Regions from separate parts of the Homo sapiens genome. Here all the other regions are linked to region 1. Evidence: promoter capture Hi-C in 16 types of primary human blood cells and fetal thymus (Javierre and others, 2016). All regions are on one chromosome and are shown on one strand. The core of a region is centred on a gene start or on the middle of the fragment in contact, and the rest is flanking DNA. Distances in the headings are between cores, read along the strand shown. Region 1 holds the start of CPN2 (carboxypeptidase N subunit 2). Region 2 has its middle 42 kb from the start of LINC02038. Region 3 has its middle 25 kb from the start of LINC02038.

Region 1 (3,314 bases), core at 547-3,046:
AGAAACATTAATTTGTACTCATAAAAAGCGTAGATAAAAATCAATACCATGCAATGAGTGAAAAAGCCATCAGTCTACTTTAAATGGTAGACTCCTGGCATTGAAACGATCTTAGACTGCTCGTCCAGGTCACCCCTTCACCCTGCTCGCCTCCACACACCCACTCCTACGCTCTCACCACACACCCACATACATCCTCACACTCACACTCACTCAGTGCACACTCACACATACCCACTCACCACACACCACACACACACATACCCCAACACACTCACACCTACTGCACACACGCACACCCACCCATTCACCACACACACCACACACCCACACACTGCACACACACACCCACTCACCACACACATACACCCACACACCCACTCACTGCACACTCACACCCACTTACCACACATTTTCTCACACACTCTCATTCTACACACACGAGACATACTCATGCATATACACACCCACTTATACCACACACACCCCTACACCCACTTACACACACCCACTCACACATACACCCACTTACACACACTGCACACCTACACACACGCACTCACCACACACACCCCTACACCCATTCACACATATACCCACTCACACCCCCCACACCCACACGCACGCACTCACCAAACACTCCCCTACACCCACTTACATACCCATTCACACATACACCCACTTACACACGCACTCACCACACACACCGCTACACCCATTCACACATATACCCATTTACACACACACACCCCACACCCACACGCATGCACTCACCAAACACTCCCCTACACCCACTTACACACGCACTCACCACACACACCTTTACACCCACTCACACATACACCCACTTACACACACATCACACATGTGCTCTCACCACACACACTCCTACACTCACATACACACGCCCACTCACATATACACCCTCTTTACATACCACACCCCCACACACGCACTCACCACACACACCCCTACACCCACTCACACATACACCCACACACGCACCCACACACGCACTCACCACACACACACCCTACCCACGCGCGCACACACCCACTCACACATACACCCACTTACACACACAACACACCCCCACACATGCACTCACCACACACCCCCTACAGCCACTCACATTTACACCCACTTACATGCACACCCCCAGATGCACGCACTCAGCACACACACACTCCGTGTGTCTTGCAGCCCTGGTTCCACACCTCCGGAGATGGGAAAATCCCTCCCTTCCAAAGCAGCATCTTTCGTCCTCGGCCAGCCCTGAGTGTGTGAGCGCTCCTCTCCATATTGGGCCCCAATTCATCTCCCTATAGCTTTTCCCCCTTCTAATTCAGGAAGGGTTTAGAAAGTTCATTCATTAAACAAGCAAACAAACACAACAAGACAAAACAACAAATCCACAGCCCTCTTGAAATGCCTCCGGGCGCTGAGAGCCCAGCAGGGGCCTGAGGCTGAAGGCAGGCTCCCAGTCCCTCTGCCTCTGCTCACAGGTATGGGTGTGAGCGTGGACCCCATCCCAGGCCTCACCAACCCAGCCGCCTGCGGGAATCTCTAGAGCTTTCTGAGTGTCCTCGGGGTCCTGAAGGTGCCAACCCTGCAACCTCGGTGGGATTTTGGCCCCGGCAGGGCTCTGTACATGGGAGGAGTTCAGGGTCATTTTGTAATCTTCAGAGGCCTTGCCAAGGCCCTCTCCCGTCCTGTGACCCTGGTGACATTCTGGGACGCTGGGGCCACGTGAGGGGAGGAACCACTGCCTGGAACTTTGATCAGCGCTGGGGCTGGATTGAGCTGACCACAGGCCACACCAGACTCCTCTCTGCTCCTGAGGAAGACAGGGCAGCCCGGCGCCACCCGCTCGGCCCTCACGGTAGGCTCCCGGGGTCGCTGAAGGGCTCCAGGGTCTGCAGGGACGTGGGGGCAGGAACGGGAACTTGCGATCTCCCCCGTTTCAGAGCATTCCGCAGCTCCAGGCAGGCTGCGGTTCTGGGGGGCCCCTGCCCCGGGAGGAGAAGTCCCTGAGGTGCTCAGCTAGGGCGCTGCTGGGAAGAGGCAGGAGGAAGGTGGGGCGGGGGTTTGTGAGATGAAGATCTGCCAGTCCTGGCCTACAAGGCTGGTAGTGAGTAGAGGATAAGCAGGGTGACCAGATGTCCAGGTTGGCCTGGTTCTGCCTAGTTTATACTTGTCATCTTGGCATAATAATAATAAATAGTATTACTAATTACTTATTAATCCTATATTAATACTAAATATTATTAATTATTTATTAATATAATTATTGTTTTTTGAGATGGGGGTCTTGTTATGTTGCTCAGGCTGGTCTTGAACTCCTGGCTTCAAGCGATCCTCCCACTCAGCCTGCTGAGTAGCTGGGATTACAAGCGCATGCCACAGCACCCAGCTCAGGCCCAAGGATGACTAGCTCCTGGTTTCCTTCCCAGAAGCGTGCTGGCTCATATAATAAAGTTTGTGGTGAAATAAACCTGCAGGGGGCCACCTTTTATTGAACATTCAGTATGTGCCAGGCGCTGTGTTAAGGGCTTTCTATTTACTATCTTATTTAGCCTATTTATCATCCAATGGAGTGCTAATTTGAACTCTGAGGGCAGAGGTGATAATTAAGTCTGGAAAACCTGAGGCTTAGAGAGTTGGAGTGATTTGCACAAGCCCACACCGCTAGTAGGTGATGGCGTCAGAATCTGATCCCAGCTGGGGGCACTGGCGGAGCTAAAGTGCTTTCCCCTGCTACTAAGCAGGATGAGAGTAAGGCCTGAGATGCGAAGTCACTGAAAGCCACAAACACATTCCTTCAATTCAGCACACAGGGCCTGACTGCCTTCTCAGTGCCTGGCCCCGAGCCAGGTGCTGGGGTGCAGAGCTGCTTGCAGAGACACCACAGCAAGACTGCAGTACCACGGGCTCAGTCGGGTGGGTGCAACTGACTAGAAAACAGAGCGGAAGAGCCCAAACATTCAACACAGTACAAGAGGGATCCGAGGACCCAAGAAAGGGCCGAGCGCGGTGGCTCACGCCTGTAATCCCAGCACTTTGGGAGGCCGAGGCAGGCGGATCACCTGAGGTCAGGAGTTCGAGACCAGCCTGGCCAACACAGTGAAACCCCATCTCTACTAAAAATACAAAAATTAGCCAGATGTGGTGGCAGGCGCCTGTAATCCCAACTACTCGGGAGGCTGAGGCAGGAGAATCGCTTGAACCCGGGAGGCAGAGGTTGCAGTGAGCAGAGATGGCGTCACTGCACTCCAGCCTGGGAAACAAGAGTGAAACTCTGTCTCAAAAAAAAA
Region 2 (3,314 bases), core at 223-2,722, 550 kb after region 1:
TACTGATAGTCTATCCACCCATCCTTCCAACCATGATCCAATCATACAACAAGTATTTATTGAATATCCACTACAAGCCAGCTCTATTCTCAGCTTTAGAAATGGAGCATTGAACACAACTAACATACAAACCATAAACACAAAAAAATTAATAAAAGGGGTTAATTTTAATAGTTAAAAATTATTGAAAGAGAATAATTCAGGGTGATGTGATAAAGAATGCTCCAGATAGAGAGGTCCTGGGAGGTATCTCTGGGGCAATGACATTTGGGTTTAAGGGGTGTGAAGGAGGTAGCTGTGCGATCATCTGGGTGAAGATATAAGCCCACGCTAAGGGAACAGCAATAGCAAATGCAAAAGTCCTGAGGAATAGATTTAGTGGGTTAAGAGAACAGAGAAAAAGCCAGAGTGACTGGTGTATAATTAGTGTTTAGGGTGGGGAGGTGGCTGGTGTCCTAGAAGAGGAGATCTGAGGGAAGGACGTGAAATGAATTATATAGTCTCTTACAGGTCAGGGCAAGATTCTATTTTATTCCTTTTTTTTTTTTTTCTTTTGACGCAGTCTCTCACTCTGTCACCCAGGCTGGAGTGCAGTAGCGTGATCTCAGCTCACTGCAACCTCTGCCTCCCACCTCACCCTCCCGAGTAGCTGGGACCACAGGCGTGCACCACCCTGCCTGGTTAATTTTTTTTTGTATTTTTTGTAGAGACAGGGTTTTGCCATGTTGCCCAGGCTAGATTAGATTTTATTCTAAATGCACTAAGATGACTTTGAGGAATTTACACTGGGAAGGCCATATTCTGATTTATGCTTTAAAAAGCTTGCTATGAATCCCTCTCTTAGTAATTAATAGGACAAGTATACAAAAAAGTAAACAGTAAAGATATAGATCCAAACAACACAACTTAATTGATATTTATAGAACTTTCCACACCCAATAAGTATAAATACACATGATTTTCAGCTGCAAATAGAACATTGACTGAGATCAAACATTTGCTGAGGCCCAAAATATATCTCAAAATGTTTCCAATAATTGAAGTATTACAGAATGTATTCTTCCAGCAAACAAAACTAAGCTACAAGCCAATTACAATAAGATACCTAGAAAATCCTCCAAATATTTAGAAATTAAATAACATGCTTCGAACTTGGACCTGGGTCAAAGAATTAATTAAAAGGGAAGTTAGAAAATATTTTGAGGCCAGGCGTGGTGGCTCACACCTGTAATCCAAGCACTTTGGGAGGCCGAGGTGGGCGGATCACTTGAGGCCAAGAGTTTGAGACCAGCCTGACCAACATGGTGAAACCCGGTCTCTACTAAAAACACAAAAATTGGCCAGGCTTGGTGGAGCACGCCTGTAATGCCAGCTATTTGGGTGGCTGAGGCATAAGAATCACTTGAACCTGGGAGGTAGAGGCTGAGTGAGCCAAGACTGTGCCACTGCACTCCAGCCTGGGCAACAGAGGGAGACTGTGTCTTAAAAAAAAAAAAAAAAAGAAAGAAAGAAAAAAGAAAATATTTTAAACTGACTGATAATGAATATACAACATACCAAAATGTATGGTATGCAACTAAAGCATTGCTTAGATGGTAATTTATAGCTTAAATGCTTATATTAAAAAGAAGAAAGGTTTAAAATCAATGATCTAAGTATCTACCTTAGAAAGCTGGAAAAATAACACATTAAATCTAAAACGGAGAAAAAAAGTATGAACATAAGAAAAAAGAAATAAATGAAAGACCAGAAAGCAATGAAATAAAAACCATACTCCAAATAGAAACAATTGGCAAAGCCACGCTTTATTCTTTGACAAGATTAATAAACTTTACAAATCCTTATGAATTAATCAAGAAAAAAATAAAGTAAACATAAATGACTTATTTCAAGGATGAAAGAAGGGATATCCTATAGATCCTACAGACACTAAAAGGATAATAAAAGAATACTATGAACTCTGTCAACAAAGTCAATAATTTATTTCAAGGAACATATGTCTCAAAAAACATAACTTACCAATGCTGACTCAACAAGAAACAGAAAATCTAAGCAGCCCAATTTCTATTCAAAAATTTCAATTCATCATCTTATTCAAAAACATTCCCACAAAGAAAGCTTCAGACCCAGATGGTCTCACTGGTGACTTCTATCACATACTTATAGACCCATTTTACAGAAGCTCTCAGAAAAAAAGAAAAGAAATGACCATTTCCCATCTCATTTTATGAGGCCAACATAATCCTAACTTTAAAAACCTGAGAAAGACATTTTTAGGACAAGGACTCTCTCATCCCCACTGCATGGATGAAGCACACTGAGGCTTGGAGTGCTGACACGACTTGTCCCAAATCTCGGGACATGAAACGGCAGCACTGGGGCCCAGGTTCCCATCCCAAGAGGTTTTTGCTACCATGCTGTCCTCTAGAAGGTGGCCCCTTCACAATCTGCAGATCACATCCTGTAGGCAACAGCTCACACCTGCTGGGGCCAGGAGACAAGACCTGAGGAATGCCCCTTCTCCACTTCCTACCCCTAAAGGAATGTGGATGGTGGGTTTTGCACCCCATCTCGCCCATTGTGTGAATCTTCCTATTTACAATGAACAGCTGTGTGAGGCCAAAGATGTATGTGTGGTTATAGGAAAAAAACTTCCATATCACATCTGGTTTTGTCATTTGGGCCAATAATCCTGTCTAGTCCATTATGTATTGCTCTGTGTAACAGATACGGCACAGAAGGAATGCTTAAAAGTTTTAACAGGAGAGGAAGTCCCTGCCAGATGAAGATAACGGCAGGATCACAGCATGGTAAGAGCAAAACTCTGCTCAGTTTTTACTTATGCAGAGGCCCAAGTTGTATTTAAACTGAAGCTGGAGTGTTATCGATTAATATTCAAATCAGCAAAGTCTTGTGTTTTACCCATGGTCAGAACTTGAAATAACGGCCTCAGTTCCTCCGTGACCCTGCAGTTTTGATGTCCTGGCCATGATTTTAGAAGGGGGCCATTGGCTAGAACGTGGGAATTTATTTCACAGTGTGTGTTGTAATGGGTTGCCAATCTTCGTGACCTGCTGGAGAACATGGCTTAGCTTCATCTCTCAGCCTTGACCTCAGTCACATCATGCTGAGGCCTCCTCGTCAGTTCTAGGGCCATGGTTTCCCAGTGTGTCTTCTGCCTGTAATTTCCTCTCCTGCAGTATACCTTTCCCAGCTTCACTGGAAATTGTATTTCTAGGTTGTCTTTGGGTTAAACTACACATTTATTAGTACATCTCTCTAAATTCTATCCTCAGTATGTGTTACTGACTTCT
Region 3 (3,314 bases), core at 417-2,916, 530 kb after region 1:
TGTCATTTCCTTAGAGACAGAAATTAGAATGATGGTTGCCAGGAGTTGAGAGTCGAGGGGAATGGGAAGTTAAAGGATGTTGAATTTAGGCTGGGTGTGGTGGCTTACACCTATAATCCCAGTGCTTTGGGAGGCTGAGGTGGGTAGATCTCTGCAGATCTCTTGAGCCCAGGAGGCAGGCGGATTCCTTGAGCCCAGGAGACCAGCCTGGGCAACATGGCAAAACCCCGTCTCTACAAAAAAGTACAAAAATTAGCTGGGCATGATGGTGCATGCCTGTAGTCCCAGCTACTCAGGAGGCTGAGGTGGGAGGATTGCTTGAGCCCGGGAAGTGAATGTTGCAGTGAGCTGAGATCATGCCACTGCACTCCAGCCTGGGCAATAGAGTAAGACTCTGTCTCAAAAAATAAAATAAAATGAAGTTTATTAAACATAGTTTGGGAAGATGAGAAGTTCTGGAGATTCGCTGCAGGCCAATGATAATATACTTAACATTGCTAAACTGTAAGCTTAAAAATTATTAAGTTGGTAAATTTCGTGTGTATTTTACCACAATTAAAAAAAATTTTTTTAATTGTTCTGTTTAATCTAGGTTATTTGTCTTTTCAAATGAATTTTAGGATCAGCTTGTCAATTCCTACAAAAATGTCTACTGGGATTTTTATTGTGATTTCATTAAATATATAGATTAATTTAAAAATAATTACCATCTTTAATTAAAAACATTGAGACCTCCAAGCAATAACATGGCATATCTCTCTGTTTATTCAGGTATTCTTTAATTTCTCTCAGCAATATGTTGTAGTTTTCAGTGTATAAGTCTAAAATATCTTTTATTAAATTTATTCCTAAATATTTTTATGCTACTGTCAATGGAATTTCTGAAGTTTTATTTTTTGGGTTGTTCTTTGCCGGCATATAGGAATACAATTGATTTCTACATATTAACCTTATATTCTGAGACACTGTCGAATTCATTTATCAGTTCTAGTAGCTTTTTGAAAATTCCTTAGGATTTTCTACATATATGATCACATTGTTCACAAAAAAATGGTTTTATTTCTTCTGTTCCAAGGTGTATGCCTTGTTTTTTGCATGACTTATTAAACCGGCTAGGACCCCCATACCATGTTGAATAGAAGTGGCGAGACAGAATTTTTAAATGAGGTTATTTTACTCTGTGAGGATCCCAGGTGGTCTCTGACAGAGCAGTTCCAATAGAACTGCAGGGCAGAACCAGGCTGCTGCAGATGAATATGCGAGTGGGAACTGAGAGAATTACAGCTGCTGGGTGTTACCACTCATGAAGCTTGACTGAAGAAGGCAGGCAAATGGGTAAAGCACATTCCCTGTTCTCAAGAGGCCCGAGTATAAACAGGGAAGTTCTAGACATGCATTTCTTCAGCTCTGCTGCTGCCTTCCTCAGTCCAGCCACCTTCTCCCACCTGGAACTTCAACAGCCACTTACCTCCCCTTCCGGTTTCTATTCCCCCGTCCCATTTTCCAGTCCATTCTAACGAAAGTCAGAGAATACCTCTTAAAGTAAAAATCAGATTATATTACTCCTGCACTCAAAACTCGGCAACCATGGCCATCCAGGCACTGCGCGGCATGGCCCACCAGTCCCCCGTTCCTCGCTATGCCCCTGGCACACCATCTCGCCTCCTCTTCCTAGCAATTCTTTAGCCAGCTCAGGCTTTTTACAAAGCCTGGCTTCAGGGATTTAGGACAAAAATGTACCTGAGCAGAGATGCAGGTGCAGAGATGTGAATGCAGGTGCAGCCTGTCAACAGATGGGCTCATTTGAAAGAGAAGCCGAGTGAGGCTGGTCCAGGCTCCCCACGGGGATGAGGCTGCAGTACTTACCTGCCCATAGGGCTGTTTAGAGTGTAGATGCATTGCTTGAATGGCTATTTGGTCTCTAGTCTTCAGGTTAATGTGGTTTGTCTCACAGGCTCTCTACAACCTTGCACCTCGACGTGTGGTCTGTGGACCAGGAACATTGTCATCACCTGGAAGCTTCTTGGAAACGTAAAATCCTAGGCCACCTCCCAGACCGATGGAAGCCACATCGGCATTTTAACCAGACACCCTGGTGATTCCATGGTGCATTCTTATCCACATTAAATTTTGACACCCCATAAAAACTCACTCTTCTGAAGCAGAATTCACCTCTCTCTAGTAAAGAACTTTAATTTTTATAATGTGTCAATGAATGAAAATGTAAAACCTAGTAAGAGAAAATGGAAGGACTTGTTCATACAACTGGTAATTAAACAAATGGGAATGAAACTTGGCTAAGGAGAGGGGATGAAGAGGATTAAACTCATAAAAGCAAGTTGGGGGTTCAAATGAGATTTCCGGGAAGGCATCAGTTGAACTCTGCAGTGAATGGCCGACCTGTTTTCATTTGTTTAATAGCTGTTCTCATGGTTACTTCCGTCTCATAGATGCCCCATCCCTACAGTCATGCACATATTCGGTCAGTATGCTCAGCAAAAAACACCCCAGGACCAAAAAGCTTTATGGACATCAGGTTACAAGCTGTATTCTGCCCCTCCCTGCCCCCGAGCCTCTCACCATCTTAGAAAGGCAGGACCTGTGCCATCACTGAAAGCAATGGCATGTTGATATTTCCGTTTTGTTTTTTTTTTTGTTTTTTTTTTTTTTGAGATGGAGTCTCACTCTGTCACCCAGGCTGGAGTGCAGTGGCTCAATCTCGGCTCACTGCAAGCTCCACCTCCCAGGTTCACGCCGTTCTCCTGCCTCAGCCTCCCGAGTAGCTGGGACTACAGGTGCCTGCCACCACGCCCGGCTCATTTTTTGTATTTTTACTACAGACGGGGTTTCACCTTGTTAGCCAGGATGGTCTCGATATCCTTATCTCGTGATCCGCCCACCTTGGCCTCCCAAAGTGCTGGGATTACAGGCATGAGCCACTGCGCTCGGCCGGCATGTGGATATTTCAACCCAACCCAACACTACTGTTGGGCGAAGGCCTCAGGTGTCCAGGGAACAGAAGCCTTTGCAAGCTGGAGGGTGCAGGCCCCACACATTCTGCACCACCATCGGGGGTTCTCTTGTTCAGTGGTTTTACAATCTTGTTTTGTAGCCCAGTTCTGGCAATGCTGCCCAGACCATTCTCCTCTCAGGACTTCTCCTACAGTCCACCCAGAAGCAGAGCCCCACAGGATGATGACAGGTGCTTCTGACTTTGGCTTATGAACTCAGCCAATATTGTCCAAGATAAACTCTGATCTAAACAACAACAACAAAAAAAACTCAAAGTATAAAATGTGTGTCTCTACAAGCAA

The links. Contacts are between HindIII fragments. The CHiCAGO score rates a contact against its expected background, and 5 or more counts as called.
Region 2: a fragment that was not itself captured here is called in contact with the fragment with the promoter of CPN2 in region 1 in 7 of 17 cell types (M1 macrophages, M2 macrophages, naive B cells and 4 more); the score reaches 9.6 in M1 macrophages.
Region 3: a contact is called between a fragment that was not itself captured here and the fragment with the promoter of CPN2 in region 1, in 1 of 17 cell types (M0 macrophages). The highest score is 5.7, in M0 macrophages.

Annotation. Positions count from the first base shown.
Region 1 is chr3:194,349,810-194,353,123 of GRCh38, reverse strand. It overlaps CPN2 (carboxypeptidase N subunit 2), which reads left to right and starts at 1,796. Exons shown (of 2, transcript NM_001080513.4): 1 at 1,796-1,882. RefSeq lists an enhancer at 1,471-2,320. The HindIII fragment of the contact is 6,903 bases long and covers 1-3,314 here.
Region 2 is chr3:193,800,011-193,803,324 of GRCh38, reverse strand. No RefSeq gene overlaps it. Among named protein-coding and RNA genes, the nearest start is that of LINC02038, 42 kb to the left of the region's middle. The HindIII fragment of the contact is 1,297 bases long and covers 824-2,120 here.
Region 3 is chr3:193,817,811-193,821,124 of GRCh38, reverse strand. No RefSeq gene overlaps it. Among named protein-coding and RNA genes, the nearest start is that of LINC02038, 25 kb to the left of the region's middle. RefSeq lists enhancers at 1,066-1,693, 1,694-2,322. The HindIII fragment of the contact is 710 bases long and covers 1,312-2,021 here.